Linked DNA regions of Homo sapiens: all the other regions are linked to region 1. The links are contacts of gene promoters, found by promoter capture Hi-C in human tissues and cell types (Jung and others, 2019). All regions are on one chromosome and are shown on one strand. Each heading gives the region's core, a stretch centred on a gene start or on the middle of the fragment in contact. The rest is flanking DNA. Distances are from core to core; before and after follow the strand shown.

The links. Contacts are between HindIII fragments. The study calls those that stand out against the background at their distance.
Region 2: a fragment that was not itself captured here is called in contact with the fragment with the promoter of PREX2 in region 1 in 1 of the 25 tissues and cell types used here (H1 embryonic stem cells).
Region 3: a fragment that was not itself captured here is called in contact with the fragment with the promoter of PREX2 in region 1 in 1 of the 25 tissues and cell types used here (heart left ventricle).

What each region holds. Positions count from the first base shown.
Region 1 is chr8:67,950,114-67,955,092 of GRCh38, forward strand. PREX2 (phosphatidylinositol-3,4,5-trisphosphate dependent Rac exchange factor 2) reads left to right here and starts at 1,933. Exons shown (of 40, transcript NM_024870.4): 1 at 1,933-2,422. The coding sequence starts at 2,282. The HindIII fragment of the contact is 2,458 bases long and covers 522-2,979 here.
Region 2 is chr8:68,006,669-68,011,647 of GRCh38, forward strand. All of the region lies in intron 1 of PREX2 (phosphatidylinositol-3,4,5-trisphosphate dependent Rac exchange factor 2), which reads left to right. Among named protein-coding and RNA genes, the nearest start is that of PREX2, 57 kb to the left of the region's middle. The HindIII fragment of the contact is 6,929 bases long and covers 1-4,979 here.
Region 3 is chr8:67,982,135-67,987,113 of GRCh38, forward strand. All of the region lies in intron 1 of PREX2 (phosphatidylinositol-3,4,5-trisphosphate dependent Rac exchange factor 2), which reads left to right. Among named protein-coding and RNA genes, the nearest start is that of PREX2, 33 kb to the left of the region's middle. The HindIII fragment of the contact is 3,074 bases long and covers 1,442-4,515 here.

The DNA of each region.
Region 1 (4,979 bases), core at 683-3,182:
AAGAGAATTTAGGGCAGATATCTGTGGGATTCTCATTCAACAAATTTGTGGTGGGGTCCAGCAATGTTCATTTTAACAAGACCTCGGGTGATTGTAATTCAATGGTCTGTGAGCCACCTTGAGAAATATGTGTCTGCAGATCAGGGTCTCTGTGGCTCTTGGGCCTTCGCAGTATGCACTGCTCGTAGAGATCCTCAGTGCATGTTTGTGGAATTGAGGTAAATGATTTGGATGGGTAAAACCCCATTAATGATTCAAACTCAAGTGTCCTGCTTTCAGAGATGAGCTTGCAGCCCTAACGGATTGTCCATAGACTAATTTTTTGATAGAAGGAAGTTGCATAAGCAGTTCTTTACTGGGGACAATTAGTACAAGAGATTCTATTTTATGTAGGAGAACAACTGATAGAAAGTTGCTTTATTTATTTGCTTTTTTCCCTAGGGAAAGGTGCAGACCTGGGGAGGAAGAAATGCTGCCTGTAGTACATGGGGAGAAGGTTCAGTCATGCTTGCATTTCCCATTCATTTCTGGATGTGTGCTTCCTATGTCTTCCGCTTCTTTTGTTTATTGTTTACTAGGTGCTGTGAGGTCTGCTCTTTAATATGCTTTGCCCTTTGTTCTTCTGCCACAGGGTGTGAAGCCATCTATGTTGTTTGCCCTTTGCTCTTGGCTACCTCTAAATAGTCATTTGTAAAAGAAAGAGGAAAATCACATCTTGCCCATCAGCTTTGTGTACATCATTCGAAAATTTTATCTTTAATATACAAAGAAAGTACAATCCTTCTTTGTGTGGTTACAGAGGGGAATGGTCACACTATGCTCTGGAAAGACATCATCTGGAAAACCAATAGGTAATTATTTTAATGTAAATATAGTGAAAAGCATCTTTATGTTTTAGAGTTTTGCTAATGCTTTCAGTGACTGCAACAAATTAACATACCACTTTCTTGCAACAACTCTATTCACTCTTCAGTTTATTTAAATGCCATTAGTTTTAGACTGAAGTTGATCTGTGGAAAATATATGTGTATAATACCAATTCAAAAAAATATATAAATTGTTTTGTTTGTTAAATGTATTGGAAATATTTAAGGCTTAGTTTCCAAGTGAGAAAAGGCAATAAACTTTAACTTTAAAATCAAGAATGTTCTGTGTGTCTATCTTCAAAAATCTAAGATTATTTCCGTTATCTATCTAGCTTTCTATCTTCTGATGAGCATTCAACAACAGCTTTATCTTTTCAATTAGTGACACCGTCTTAAATCACAGCAGCTCTTAGAAACAAAACTGGCACAAATACCCTCGCCTCTCAATGGATTTACATACTATCTTGATGTTGAAAAAAGTTGTAGACATGGAAAACAGCACAGTACAAGGGTGATGCTTATTTTATCTGGGGTTTATTGCATGGGCAGAGGCTGTCATTTTCCCATAGTGTCTTCATTTATTATGCTAATTGACTTTCCAAGCTCAGACTGGAGGGTGTCTGCCCTGTGAACTATTCTCAGTTGGAGGGTTTTAAAAGCAAACCTGTTTTGTGCCTGAATGAAACAAAAAATCAATGTGTTTCTTTTCAAAGAGGGAGGGTCAATACCGTGGTTGTTTTTGTTCCCATCCAGTTATGTAACCGTGGGGACTTGTTTCTTTGCTTTCAGGATTTGTACGAAACACATTAAAGTTAAACAATAGCGGAGGCTTAGGAGTAACCCTCGAGCTGCGCCTTGGAGTGTGTGTCCCTGGGATTGGGAACCTCCTGTGAGTTCCATATCAAGTGCTGCTGTGTGTGTGTGTGTGTGTGTGTGTGCGTGTGTGTGTGTGTGTGCGCGCGCGCGCGTGTGTGTGATTAGCCAGTACGCAGTACTTCCCCAGGGTTGTGTTTCCTTTTTCCTGAGATTTGGCGAAGGGTAAAGGGTCGGAGTCACATGGATACAAAGCTTTTGATTAATGTCCAAGTCACTGCTGTGGCTGCCGAAGCCGCTTCCCCTCCAGCCCCGGCCGTGTGAGGCCAGAGCAGCGGGGCCGGGCGCGCAGGGCCTGGCCGGAGCCCCCACTCCCAGGAGTTTCCTCTGCAGAGCCCCGCGCCCCCCGCGCCGGGATTTCAGCCCGATCCCCTCCTCTCCCTGCGCCCAGCCTCTCCCCAGCATGTAAAGTCTTCTGTCTCTCCTCGGAGTTGGCGGAGGCGGCAACTTTCCATTCTCGCCGCCGGGGGCCGGGCAGCAGCGGGCGCGCGGGTCAGCGCTCAGCACGGCGGGCAGCGCCGCGCTGCGCACCGCCGCCGACCATGAGCGAGGACAGCCGCGGAGACAGCCGCGCCGAGAGCGCCAAGGACCTGGAGAAGCAGCTTCGCCTGCGCGTGTGCGTGCTCAGCGAGCTCCAGAAGACCGAGCGGGACTATGTGGGCACGCTGGAGTTCCTGGTGTCGGTGAGTGTCCCCGGCAGACGCAGGGGGACGTCCGGGCGGCGCGGGGCGCGGGTCCCGGAGTGGCTGCGGGAAGGACGCGCGGCATTGTCTGTGCGGGGACCCGGGACGGGTCGGGGCATCACAGGCGCGGGAATCCACGTGTGGACTCTGCGTTCGCGGGCGCGGTGACCCCCGCGGGGATTTGTTGGTGCCCCGAGACTCACTGAGTTGCGGGGGCCTTGGAGACCTCCAGGTCTGAAAAGTTAGCTCTAGAGAAGAGAGCTCCAGTCCAGGGAATCCCGGCTGCCCTATCTTCCCTCACTTTTCTTTTACCCGCCTCCCCAGTCTGCTCAAGTGCACTGTGTAATTGATTTTCCTTCTTGTTCTTTCCTGGAGACTTTGTTTTAAAGCTTTGGTTTTGTGATTAAAGGTCCAGTCGGCTACATCCAGGTACACTAAGTTAAAAAAAATCCTTGAATGTGCTCGAGCTTGAGTTCGTTACTCAGATAACATGGCAGTGGCCGCTTTAGTTATGGTCTTTGAGACAGAGGATTCTGGTGTAGGGGTACAGAGAGAGCAGCGGGGTGATGATCTCTAGCAGCTGTTGGATATTAAAGCCACATGTGGCGCTCACCCTGTCCTAGTCTTACAATTCCCTCCCCCCCGCCCCCCGCCCCGGCTTAAATCTGTCTTCTGCTCAGTTTCTGGTCCCCTGTTTACATGGCCCATGAGAGTGCTGTAATCAAGCTTCGGGACTTCGTGGAAGTGGGGATGTACTTATATTCCACGTTTCTGCTTGACTCACTGCCATCTGCTTTGAAAACGTCTCATTCATTTTAGGGCCGAAGGGGCAAAACTGAGTGAAAGTAACTGCTGAGATAACACTCAAAAGTTGAATTTTTCCTATTCATTGCTGAAAAGACAAAGAATTTGAGCCTTGGCTTCTTTCCACCCAGATTCCTGGGAGAGCATCATTCAAAGAACCAGGAGCTTTAGTTTTTGTGATCTCATCCAAATCCTTCTCCTTCCAACAACCAATTCCATGCCCCCTTGGTCTGAAGGAAAATATTTCAGGTGCCAAACTTCCTGCTTAGTGTTCTGAAATCTGTCAACTTTCTGCTTATAATCATGACAGATAAAATTCACTTCTTGGCTGTGGCAAGAAGGAAAGAAAAATGTCTCAAGTGATGTAAAATGTACAGGCTGCGTTATGGTTGACTTCTCAAAATCAATATACTTGACTTCCAGGGGCCACATTCTCTGCAAATATACAGGTATTTGAGAATATCCTGGTAACTGGTGGTTTATAGAATTATTATATACTTCCTTGTAACAAAGATTGTCAAAAAAGTATGTTTTTAAGATTTGATTTTTAATAGCTTTAAATTTGGCTTTCATGAAACTTTTTTGGTAACAAAGTTCTTTGTCTTTTGAAGAATCTGAGTCATTTCTTACATAATTACTCTTTCTGAAGATCTGTGAACAAAGTACTGTGCAGAATGCTAATTTGCAGAGACAGTTAATCTAATTATATTAAAAACCAATTTGTTGATCTTTATTTAAAATATCAGTTTTTCTTCTAATCTTAAACCTGATCATTACAACAGAAAACTTACTGTTAGTATATAGAGTTAGGTAAGAAAGTGTGGAAAGTATAAAATAAATTTTCCCCTTTTATAAGGAGAACATCATTTCATGATTTCTTTTTATCTCTTTCAGAATTTATGGGCTCTTCCACTTTTCATTTTCTTTGTGCATCATTTGTGCCTGTTTATGTTTATATGCACAAATGCACTAATTAGTCTGAATGCCATCCTAAATAAAAGTTTACTCTGGCTTACAAAGCCTAAGATCTATTTATAATAGATTATTAGATTTTCTTTTTAGGGTGTTATTTATAGCAACATTTACTCCCCATGGAGTTTTCTTGGTTACCTGAAGTTGATGTAGTCACTCTGGTTTTGATATTAGACTATGCTAATATGTACCAAGAGCTTTTAATCTATGCAAACCCTTTGGCCTGGTAATTCCTCTTCTAGGAACCTATCCTAAGGGAATGATCAGAGATGGAAACAAGCAATAGAAGTTATTTTTAAAAGTTAGCCATAGTATTAAATAAGTCGAGTGGTAAATTTGTTGCCAAAAATTGATAGTTTACTCCTAAGTCAAATTAAATATTTGTTAGATTAGTCATTAATCATTTCTATTATTGCTTTAAGCCATTAACATGGATGAAGGATGACTAATCTTTATTAGGAAGAGGAAGAAGAGGTAGAAAACATATTTTTAGTTCTACTAAGAACATATTTTTACTTAACTGCCCTATAAATAAGCAAACAAAATGGTATTACTAGCTTTATAAAAAGATCATATGTCCTAGCACTTTTGGGGGCCGAGGCGGGTGGATCACCTGAGGTCAGGAGTTCAAGACAAGCCTGGCCAACATGGTGAAACCCCGTCTCTACTAAAAATACAAAAAATTAGCCGGGCGTGGTGGTGGACACCTTTAATCCCAGTTACTCAGGAGGCTGAGGCAGGAGAATCACTTGAACCTGGGAGGTGGAGGTTGCAGTGAGCC
Region 2 (4,979 bases), core at 1,194-3,693, 57 kb after region 1:
TTATGTGCACGTTCAAGCTTTAAGCTCTGCAAATAATTGCCCTAAACCAGATTAATTATCACACCCAGCCTAGGACAGTTTCATTTACATCCCCAAAATGTTGGTTCTTGAGGACCTAAGGTTATTCAGATCCCGTGAAACAAGAAAACTATTGATGTTAGGGGATATTTGGGATTTTGCAGTAGTTGAACAAATATGCATCTTTGTGGTTATGTAACAAAACTCATAGACAAAGCTATATAGACAGACACTATATTTTTTTGATGGTTAATTTTCATAACCCAGGTCAGAAAAAAACTTCTTAAAATATTTTTTAATTATCATAGCTTTTCTTTGTCCTGTGGAAGGAAAGTTTCCTTGTTTATTTGCAGCTAATTTGCCTCATGAATATTCAGCTGTCGATGGAGCTGCAAGCCAATATCCATAGAAATGAACTCATTAGGAGCATTTTGTTGGCAGCTATTTGATTCGTGAAGTATGTAGAAGTATTTATGATATTTCATATTTTATTTTTTCTTGATTTTTGAAACATAAAAGGATTATTGATAATAATTGTTATCCTAGGTTTTCACAGTTGAGCTTATTTAGTTTTTCTCATATTTCTTGAATTTGTAAGAAAATGCTTTCAGATATTTGACCACTTACACAGATTTTTACAAAGTAAATTATAAATAAAAAGTCATGAATGACTTAAAAGCAGTTCAAAAATGTTTTACATATTTATACATATGCAATACTTGTTCCTCCTAGTTGGTTATTGTCATTGATATAGCTTGCTATGTGGGTGATGTAAAATAGAATGGTTCTCCTTTTTGAAGGTCTTCCTTCAGAAGTTTTGCTGTTATTTAATGAAAACAGCATTGAAGAAGTATATTTGGTTATAAGAAATAGAAAAAATAGTAATAACAGCAAACGTAGACATTGACACTCGATGTACCAGTTACTTTTTTTTTATTTTTGAGACGGAGTCTCGCTTTGTCGCCCAGGCTGGAGTGCAGTGGCGCCATCTTGGCTCACTGCAAGCTCCGCCTCCTAGGTTCATACCATTCTCCTGCCTCAGCCTCCTGAGTAGCTGGGACTACAGGTGCCCGCCACCACGCCTGGCTCATTTTTTGTATTTTTAGTAGAGACGGGGTTTCACTGTGTTAGCCAAGATGGTCTCGATCTCCTGACCTCATGATCCGCCCACCTCGGCCTCCCAAAGTGCTGGGATTACAGGCATGAGCCACCGCGCCCGGCCCTCAGTTACTTCACATATATTAATTTGTTTAATGCTTATAGCAAGTCTATAGGAGTAGATACCATATTACTCTTATCTTACAAATATGGAAGCTCTGCCTCAGAGAGGTAAAGTTACTTGTATGGTCACACATCTAGTAGTTGGCAGAGTTGGGTTTCAAATCCAGGCAGAGTGGCTCCAGAAAGCTGTTCACCACTTCATGTTGCTGACTTCTGTCATATTTTGGTAAAGACTAGAAACTGGACTGCCTGTTGTCCCAAAACCTGGCATTCTTTCCCCACTGATTTGAAGTGCCACCTGTTTCAAATAGTAAATTCTAAATACTCAGGATATTTTCTGGACTGTTTCTGTGCCACTGATATATTAATACTTGTCCGTATCAGCCCAGCACTAACCGTTTTAGTTACTTTATACGAATTCCCTTTAGGAATAGAGTATGAGTCAAATGGAAAAGGAAAGGAAACAAATTGCAGACTAAGGAAGGGGTGATATGTTGAATGAAGAGGGTAAAGACAATATTTGGTCATGAGAGAAGGAGAGAATATGGTGAGTCAGAAAGGGCCATAGGATACTGACATGTATTTTAAGTCATGTGTGTTTTAAGGATGATGGTGGACAATTTTAGAAGTCAGTTTTAAAGAAAAGGTAAAGTAAGTGCCTACGTTTCTGAGGTATAAAAGTTGGAGACAAGTTAATATGGTTTGGCTGTGTCCCCACCCAAACCTCATCTTGAATTGTAGCTCACATAATCCCCATGTGTTATGGGAGGGACCTGGTGAGAGGTGATAGAATCATGGGGGCATGTCTTTTCTGTACTGTTTTTGTGATAGTGAATAAATCTCATGAGATCTGATGGTTTTATAAAGGGGAATTCCCCTGCACATGCTGTCTTGCCTGCTGCCATGTAAGATGTGTCTTTGCTTCTCCTTCGCCTTCTGCCATGATTGTGAGCCCTCCCCAGCTGTGTGGAACTGTGAATCCATTAAACCTATTTTTCTTTGTAAATTACCTTTTCTCCGGTATGTCTTTATAGCAGTATGAAAACGGACTGACATGCAAAATAAATGTGTTTAAAGAATAAAACAAGTTCATGTTAATTGAAATAAATATGAAACCAATTTATAAATCTTTCTTTTATACCTCATGGATTGCACAGTGAGTTAGATCAGAGTATGAGATGAAGGAGGGGAGTAGCCGTCGGGCAGCGACAGATCTTCAGGTTGGGATCTTCATTCATTTCTCTGGGTTTTCCAGCACTAAATACGTTTCCTTCTACACTGCTTACATTTCCTTTTCATCGGAACTGCATTCTTGAATAACGACTAAAACAGGAATAGTGTTCTGCACTTTAAATTCGGGAAATGACCAGTTTCCTGTGCCAGAGAAAAATATGTGCTTGAGAATATTATCTATACAATGTACTTTGTACTTCCCACTTACCCTTTTCTTTCATTGTGCTGTGTTGTTCAAGTGATCTGATATCAACGTAAATTCCTGACCAGCACAATATGAAGTATTATTATGTGGGAGACATAATAGTCTACTGGCATCTCTATATAAGTATTTGTATAATATTAAAAATAAGGCAATTTAATAGAGACATTAAGAAAAAAGTTGACAAATATATTCATGTAAGCTTCTGAACTGCATTTAGAAATCCGTTTTATTTCGTGTTTTTCACCAGCTGACACCATGAAACATACTTTTATATGAAATGATACCAGAAAAATGGTGGGATATTTGAAATGTCTTTCTTTGTTGTAATTCTGAACCTCATTAAAAGTTTATTTCCATCTGACATTAAGTTTGTTTACAAATATAATGACTTATGATACATAAATACATTTTAATTTAAATTTTATAAACTAGTCTTATGAATTGTTTTTGTTTAAGTGTTCCATTGGTGCTGTAAAGAGTTGGTAGCACCTAGAAGAAGGCAGCTTCCAAAGGAACAGTCTTCTTTTCTGAACCTGGCTTTTCTGTAGAGGTCTTGTCAGATCAGCCTGTCATTTTACTTCCAGCCTGTGTGCTTCTGGTCCATGCCCTGATCTTGTGACATCTCATTGAAATTAAAGCTGTGGTCTGACCAAACTTCACTTGCATTGTTCCATTTTTATTAATACCTCGTGCTCTAAGTTGTTTCAAGGATTGAGGACATAGACAACAATCCCTATTAGCACCTTAGAGTTTGATCCTCAATAAACTTTTTCTATCTTCTACTCTTTGTGAATCTCCAAATTTCTGCAATGGGTGGAAGATAAATGTATGATTAGAGAGATTGACATGTATACCAAACAACTGGGAGCTAGCCTGGGATCCTGAGCAGAAAAGATCCACTACATTGTGGAAGATCCAATAGTTAAAAAATAAACAGAATTTTTGCCTCGATACCTTGAATTATAATACTTGTTCTGATATCAAGGACTTCTCCAGAAAGTAGAGTCTGTTGGATTGATTTACTGTTAATATAGGAGCAGAGAGGAGGAGAAAGGGCCCTTAACTTACCCTTTAGTTCTGTTCTCTCTAGTGTTAATAATAATCATAACCACAGTAGAAGTAATGGGACTAGGCTGTGGATGTAGTAATAGTGGATAGTGATAATAGGCGCAGTGGCAGAAATATCAGATAACATTTACTGGGCCTTATTTGTGTGCTAGCACTTTGCAAAGGGCTTTCATTACCTGCATGTAATCTTCTCCACCTCTCTGTGAGGCACATATGATTATTAACCTGATTTAATGGGTGAGGAAACTGAGACTTAAAAGCAGCTGGCCTCTCATAAATGCTCACCACAGAGCTGAACTCCACCCTGAGGAGACATCCTGTATCTGTATGTGTTTGAGTGCGTATTTCTAGGTGTGTAGGGGAGGAAGGTGGTGGGTTAATTTTGAAGGCTTCCAAACAGCCCACTATAAACATCATACATTTCCTAATCTTCGTTCTTTTTGAAACTGATTTCTCCCTAGGGTTTGGTGTATCCCTGACCATTCAGGAAAGAGACATCAATGACCCGAAACAATACAAGGAACACAAGATCTTCATGAATCAAATGATACTTGGAATGAATACACCAATAAGAATTTATTGCCAAAAAGTTACTTTATTAAAACAAATTTTAAATAAAGAACATGGAGTTGTTTCAATCCTTGAGAAAACTAGCTGTATACATGCCTGCCAGAGCTATCTCTAACAAAAGATATCACTTCTAAGAGTAAATATCTCGCTTAATTTTAGATTCCTTGGGGAACTAAGAGTTAAGTAAAACATGCTCCAATTTTCTTAGGTTTATTTTTAAGTATTTTTGTTTTAGCTTTTTTTTTCTCTGATCATGGGAGTACATTTTCGCTCAAACACTTCAAGAACAAATGCTATTTTAAAACTTAGAACTCTGGAATGATCAGTATTAAAAAGTTGTGAGTCAAAAGGACCTTGACAAAACCTTAAGAGTGTGGCTGGAAATGGAAATGGCTACGGCTACAAAGATTCCCAAGTCAAAAAAAATGAGTAAAATGGGCTTTGTATTTAAAAAAAAACAACATTACTATTAGAATACATGGCAATTAACATTCAGCTTTGGTGTACATGATGATAGGGAGTAGTGGTGACTGTGGCAAAATGAAGGGAACATGTGGCTTCTTCAGCTCTAACTTACTGTTATTCAGGTAGATAGGCCCTGTGTTAATTTTCTCCAAGTGTTTGAAGAGAGGCTGTAATTATTGACTTTTATATGAATACTCTT
Region 3 (4,979 bases), core at 1,729-4,228, 33 kb after region 1:
GAAGTGTGGATAGCCTCTGCATGCGGTGGCTCACACCTGTAATCCCAACACTTTGGGAGGCAGGAGGATCACTGAGGCCAGGAGTTTGAGAGCAGCTTGTGCAACATGGTGAGACCCTGTCTCTATAAAAATTTAAAAAAAAGCTGGTATAGTGGTGTGTGCCTATAGTCCCAGCTACTTGGGATGCTGAAGTGGGAGGATAGCTTGAGCCCAGGAGGTTGAGACTGCAGTGAGCTATGATCCATGCCATTGCACTCCAGCCTGGGCAACAGAGCAAGACCCTGTCTCTAAAAAAAAATTAAAAGTGTGGAAAATAATAATGCCTGCCATGCTGTTTGCAATTGTAATACCTGGATTCCCCCTCAGGTAGTAAGGGATGGGAGGGAATTTGATCACTAATAAAAGATACATTGACATGTATTAGAATTGTCATTGTTTATGGGTAAAATATTTAAAAAATATATGTATTTCATTTGGGAATTTGGTAGAGAGCCTAATGAGAGCTGCTGATCACTTGCATAGATGTATTTTTATGTATAAGAACAGCTGATAGTATTTTGCCTTTATATTTCCTTCTTTATGCATACAGCCTCTCAAAGCCAATCTAAAATGCTGCCTACTTTATAAAATTTTTCTGACCCTCAAGATGGAATGGGATTACAGTTTCTTTTAAACTGTCATAGAATATTCTGACTTGTCTATGACATTAATGATTTCCCGCCTTAACATTATATTTACTTGTTCAATTGTCTGACCCTCTCCAATAGACCTCATGCTCATTCTGGCATGGCCTTTAGCATCTTCTTTGTGGTATGTCTTGGAATACCTCAATTTCGGTATGCAGGTCCTCAAATCTTTATTTGATTTAGTTGAACCACATTGTTAAGCTTTAGTTTTTATCTCTTTTTCCTGATTCCTTTACACAATATTGAAAGACATTGGCAGAACATTTACTTTATATGGGCCATAGTGGTGGTGGTATTTTTTTAAGCAGATATGCTAATTTCTAAAATTTTAAGTTTGTGTGCTTCCTCAAAAGCCAACATTACTGTGATGAAAACAGATTTTGAACCTTTGTTTGGTATCTGCATACTGATGATGATGGATCAATGGTGAAAGAAACAAACTATGTTTTACCTTGGCCCTGCCCCACAAGGCATTCATGAAAAGAGACCTGCAGATGCAGGTTGTTCCCTGCATTGCCCAGCTGTGCTGGCTGAGTGATGTTCGAATATGTAAGCACTTTTTCATTTCCTTCATCTCTCCATCCTCCTGTTACTTAGTTTTTATGCTAAGATTCTCACCTGAGTTATCAGAATAGCCTCCTAATTGAGGTTCCTGCCTCCATTCATTCTTGACTCAGATAAGTTCCCAACTGTGCCATGATAGTGAACTTCCTATATAGTTCAGTCACCCACAATGGCCACAGGGCAAGTTCCAAGCAGTTAAGCTGCCCATGAGGGCCTCCAGGATCCCAAATTTCCAGCAGTATCCTCTTCCTGCCCTCTTCCTTCTGCCAGACTTCATGAAATTTTTGCTCCAGAATTGAGTGTTTAGTTTTCTTCATTTATTGACCACTCTTTGATTCTCCATTAGCTATTGTTATTATTGAGTGCTTCCTTAGTAGTGATTAGGGTTGTGAGCTCTTCGTGAGCTCTGGGTCCACATGGCTGGGATCAAAGCTGTGTGATCCTAGAAGTTCTTAATCTCTGTCTCCTTCCATTTTCACATCTGTAAGATGGGGATGATATTGGTCCCAGCATCATAGGGTTGCTGTGAAGATTGAGGTGATACCTGTAAAGAGTGTAGGACAGTGCCTGGCACATAGTAGTGCACATCAATCTAATGCCGTGCTTGGTACTGCTCTGGGAATTTGTATTCTCATGCCTCTGATCCTGCTATTCTCCCTATGTTGAGTGTTCCCCGCATTTCCTCCCCAACTTGAATTTCTGTCCATTCTTTAGAATCGTTCTAAGGTGTCAGCTTCTTAGTAAAGCTTTTCCACATCACCCTTTCCACCTTCAGAAAGAACTGATCACTCCATCTTCTCTTCTACTTCTGAACCTTGAAAATAAATATTTGTGCAGCACACTTTCATGCAAGTATTCATATACACATCCGTGTCCCCTACTGGATCATGAACTCATTAAGAACGAAGAGTATGATTTATTCAACATTGATTTCTTAGAAGCTAGCTCAGTGCCTGGCACATAGTATTCAATAAATAATTGTTGAACTGTGCTTTTTGAATTGAACAGGAAAGCACTTTATCACTTAATGTTTTAGGCATGAAATCCAGAGTATGTTATCGCAGTGTCATGGTGATGTGCATACATACATGCATGTGTATGTATGTGTCTGTGGTTTGATTAGTACATGCCTGATTAAGGAAAATAATTACTGTGAGTTGTTCATTTATTTAACTACTTCTGGTAGTTTATAAGAAAGGAATTTCTTCAACTTCCTAGGTAGAAATGCAAGCCAGGACTTGTGGCAATTCAGTGCCAAAGATCTGTTACTGTTAGCCTGGAAGACTGCAGGTCTGCCGGTTCCAGCTGTGCTTTAATAAACAGGAGCTCAAACACTTCATGATGGGAAGTACAGCTGAGGACTCTCGAATGCACAAGCTGATCATGCTGAATGCTTTTCTGGGTCATGTTCATTTCATAAAAACAGCCAATTCCCAGCCTTCCCAGAAGAGGAAATGCTGAAGGTCCTAGCTGCGATGTGGGGTGAGGAGGAAACCAGGACGGAGAGGGAGAGGGGGCCTCACCACCTCCCCTTTCCTTGGCAAGGAAGCCAGCCCAGGCACCCAGCCCAGTCGCACGGGTCCCTGTTAGGACTTTGGGCTGTGCTTAAGTACACAAGTTTTTTTTTTTTTTCTTGCCTTTTGTAGCGACTACGTTGTTCCAGTGACCAGAGCAACATGACATAGAAGCAGAGAAAACATACCAAGTTCTTGCCAGTTGCTAGGCAGAGAAAAACGCTTTTGGATGTTTGAAGTATGCTTCCTATGTTGATTTCCTAACCATGACTTGTTTTGAAAGCCAAACACAATAGCATCGTGAATACTCATCAGCATTTGGTAGGCTTTGCTGCCAACCTAATTAACAGATTTCAGTTTAGAGGGATGAGAATAAAGGGGATGCTTTTGGTAAAGTAGTAGCTTCGTGGGAAATTTGATTTTTCTCTAAGGATTGTTTCTTATAATTTTTTTGATATAATATAATATTTAATTTCAATGACCATATTTGTCTTAATTTTAACACAAGCAGTTTTTAGATTATACTTAACATTGATGCTAATATAGTTGCAGTGGATTTTACCCAAGTTTTCTTTTTAAAAACCTAATGAAATATGGAAAAGGTAGTTCTCTTTGGTCTAAATGTCAATATTAGAGCTGTGAGTGTGATGATTTACCGTGCACTTAATTTTTCTTATTGTCGGAGATAGGAAAATGATCATTTCTTCTGGGACACCAAGCTCTCATTGTTAAGTAGGGCAGCTGGTGAATCCTGAACTCAGAGGCAGAGACTCCCCAGGAGGGCCGCTGAGTACAGTAGGCTGTAAGGGAACTAAGAAGGATACTCTTCCCTGCATGGCCAAACACAGTTGCAGAGGACAGTTTCAGGGTGATGTTGGGCAGGCCATTGGGCTTGGCTGGTCCTAGGGGCAACTGTTTCCCTGTGGGCGATGGGGCTGCTCCATCCATGCAAGCGACCTGTGTTCCCCACCAGAGCTATCCAGAGTGGTGTCCCTTTAATTCTATTATCAGACCATGTGGTTTCTAGCAGGGAACACAGATCTAATTGAAGCTTTAAGGAAACTTTATGAATAGGAAGCCACACATAGTTGTAGAAAGATCTCAGGCCAGCTGTCACTTGGGAGATGGAAGTTCAAGGTTAATTTCACTTGACTGGCAAAAGCGTTTTGAGAGAAAAGTTGGTTTTCGTAATCTTTCTTTTGGTTGGAGACAGGAAAAATGGGGGAAAAATTAATATGCCTTTCTACTATCTCTTTTGGGATAACCAGGTTATATTGATGAAAATGATTTTATGTACAAGGCACAGTGTGTGTATATAAATTCTTTTAATCTCCACCGTAATCCCAGAGAGTAGGCACTCTTATAGATGGGGAACTCAGGTACAGAGAAATTAGAGAAATTCCCAGAATCACCCAGCTCGGAAGTAGCAGAGCTTGGATTTGAACTGAAGAAGTCTTGTGATGGAGTTCCTGCTCTTGGCCAGTACACTACATTGCCTGGGCATGCCGGGAGCGTAGGGCTGCTCCATCCATGCAGGCATCCTGTCTACAGGCATCCTGTCTGCAGGTGGCTTGACTACAGGTGGCTTGTCTACGTGCAAATGACGTGCTTGCTTGCTACATGTAGACATCTTAGCTGGATTGGCCTCTGAGTCCTCTGTAATACTTTCATGGAGATTTATCTCATTGGGTTTAAGTCATAGATTTACATGTGTATCACTTCTATCATATAGTGAACTTCTAATGGCAGGGGCTTGATTATGAGTTGCTGGCACCCAGCATGGTGCCTTTCTTTCGAGAACCTTATGGAGTTGAAGAACACAGTGCCAACAACCTGGGGCAGAGAGTAACAGTAAGGCCAAGAGCTTCAAGTGATCTCTAGGACTCTTTTTGGCTCTTGTCAGTACTAATAGAGATAATGTCTTGTGTTGCAATTTGGAATTCACGAAAACCAAACTTAAAGATGTTTTAAAAAAGAACATCACTGGCCAGGGATGGTGGCTCACAGCTGTAATCCTAGCACTTCGGGAGACTGAGGTGGGTGGATCATGAGGTCAAGAGATGGAGACCATGGTGAAACCCTGTCTGTACTAAAAATACAAAAAATTAGCCGGGCACGGTGTCAGGTGCCTGTAGTCCCAGCTACTTGGGAAGCTGAGGCAGGAGAATGGTGTGAACCTGGGAGGCGGAGCTTGCAGTGAGCAGAGATCACGCCA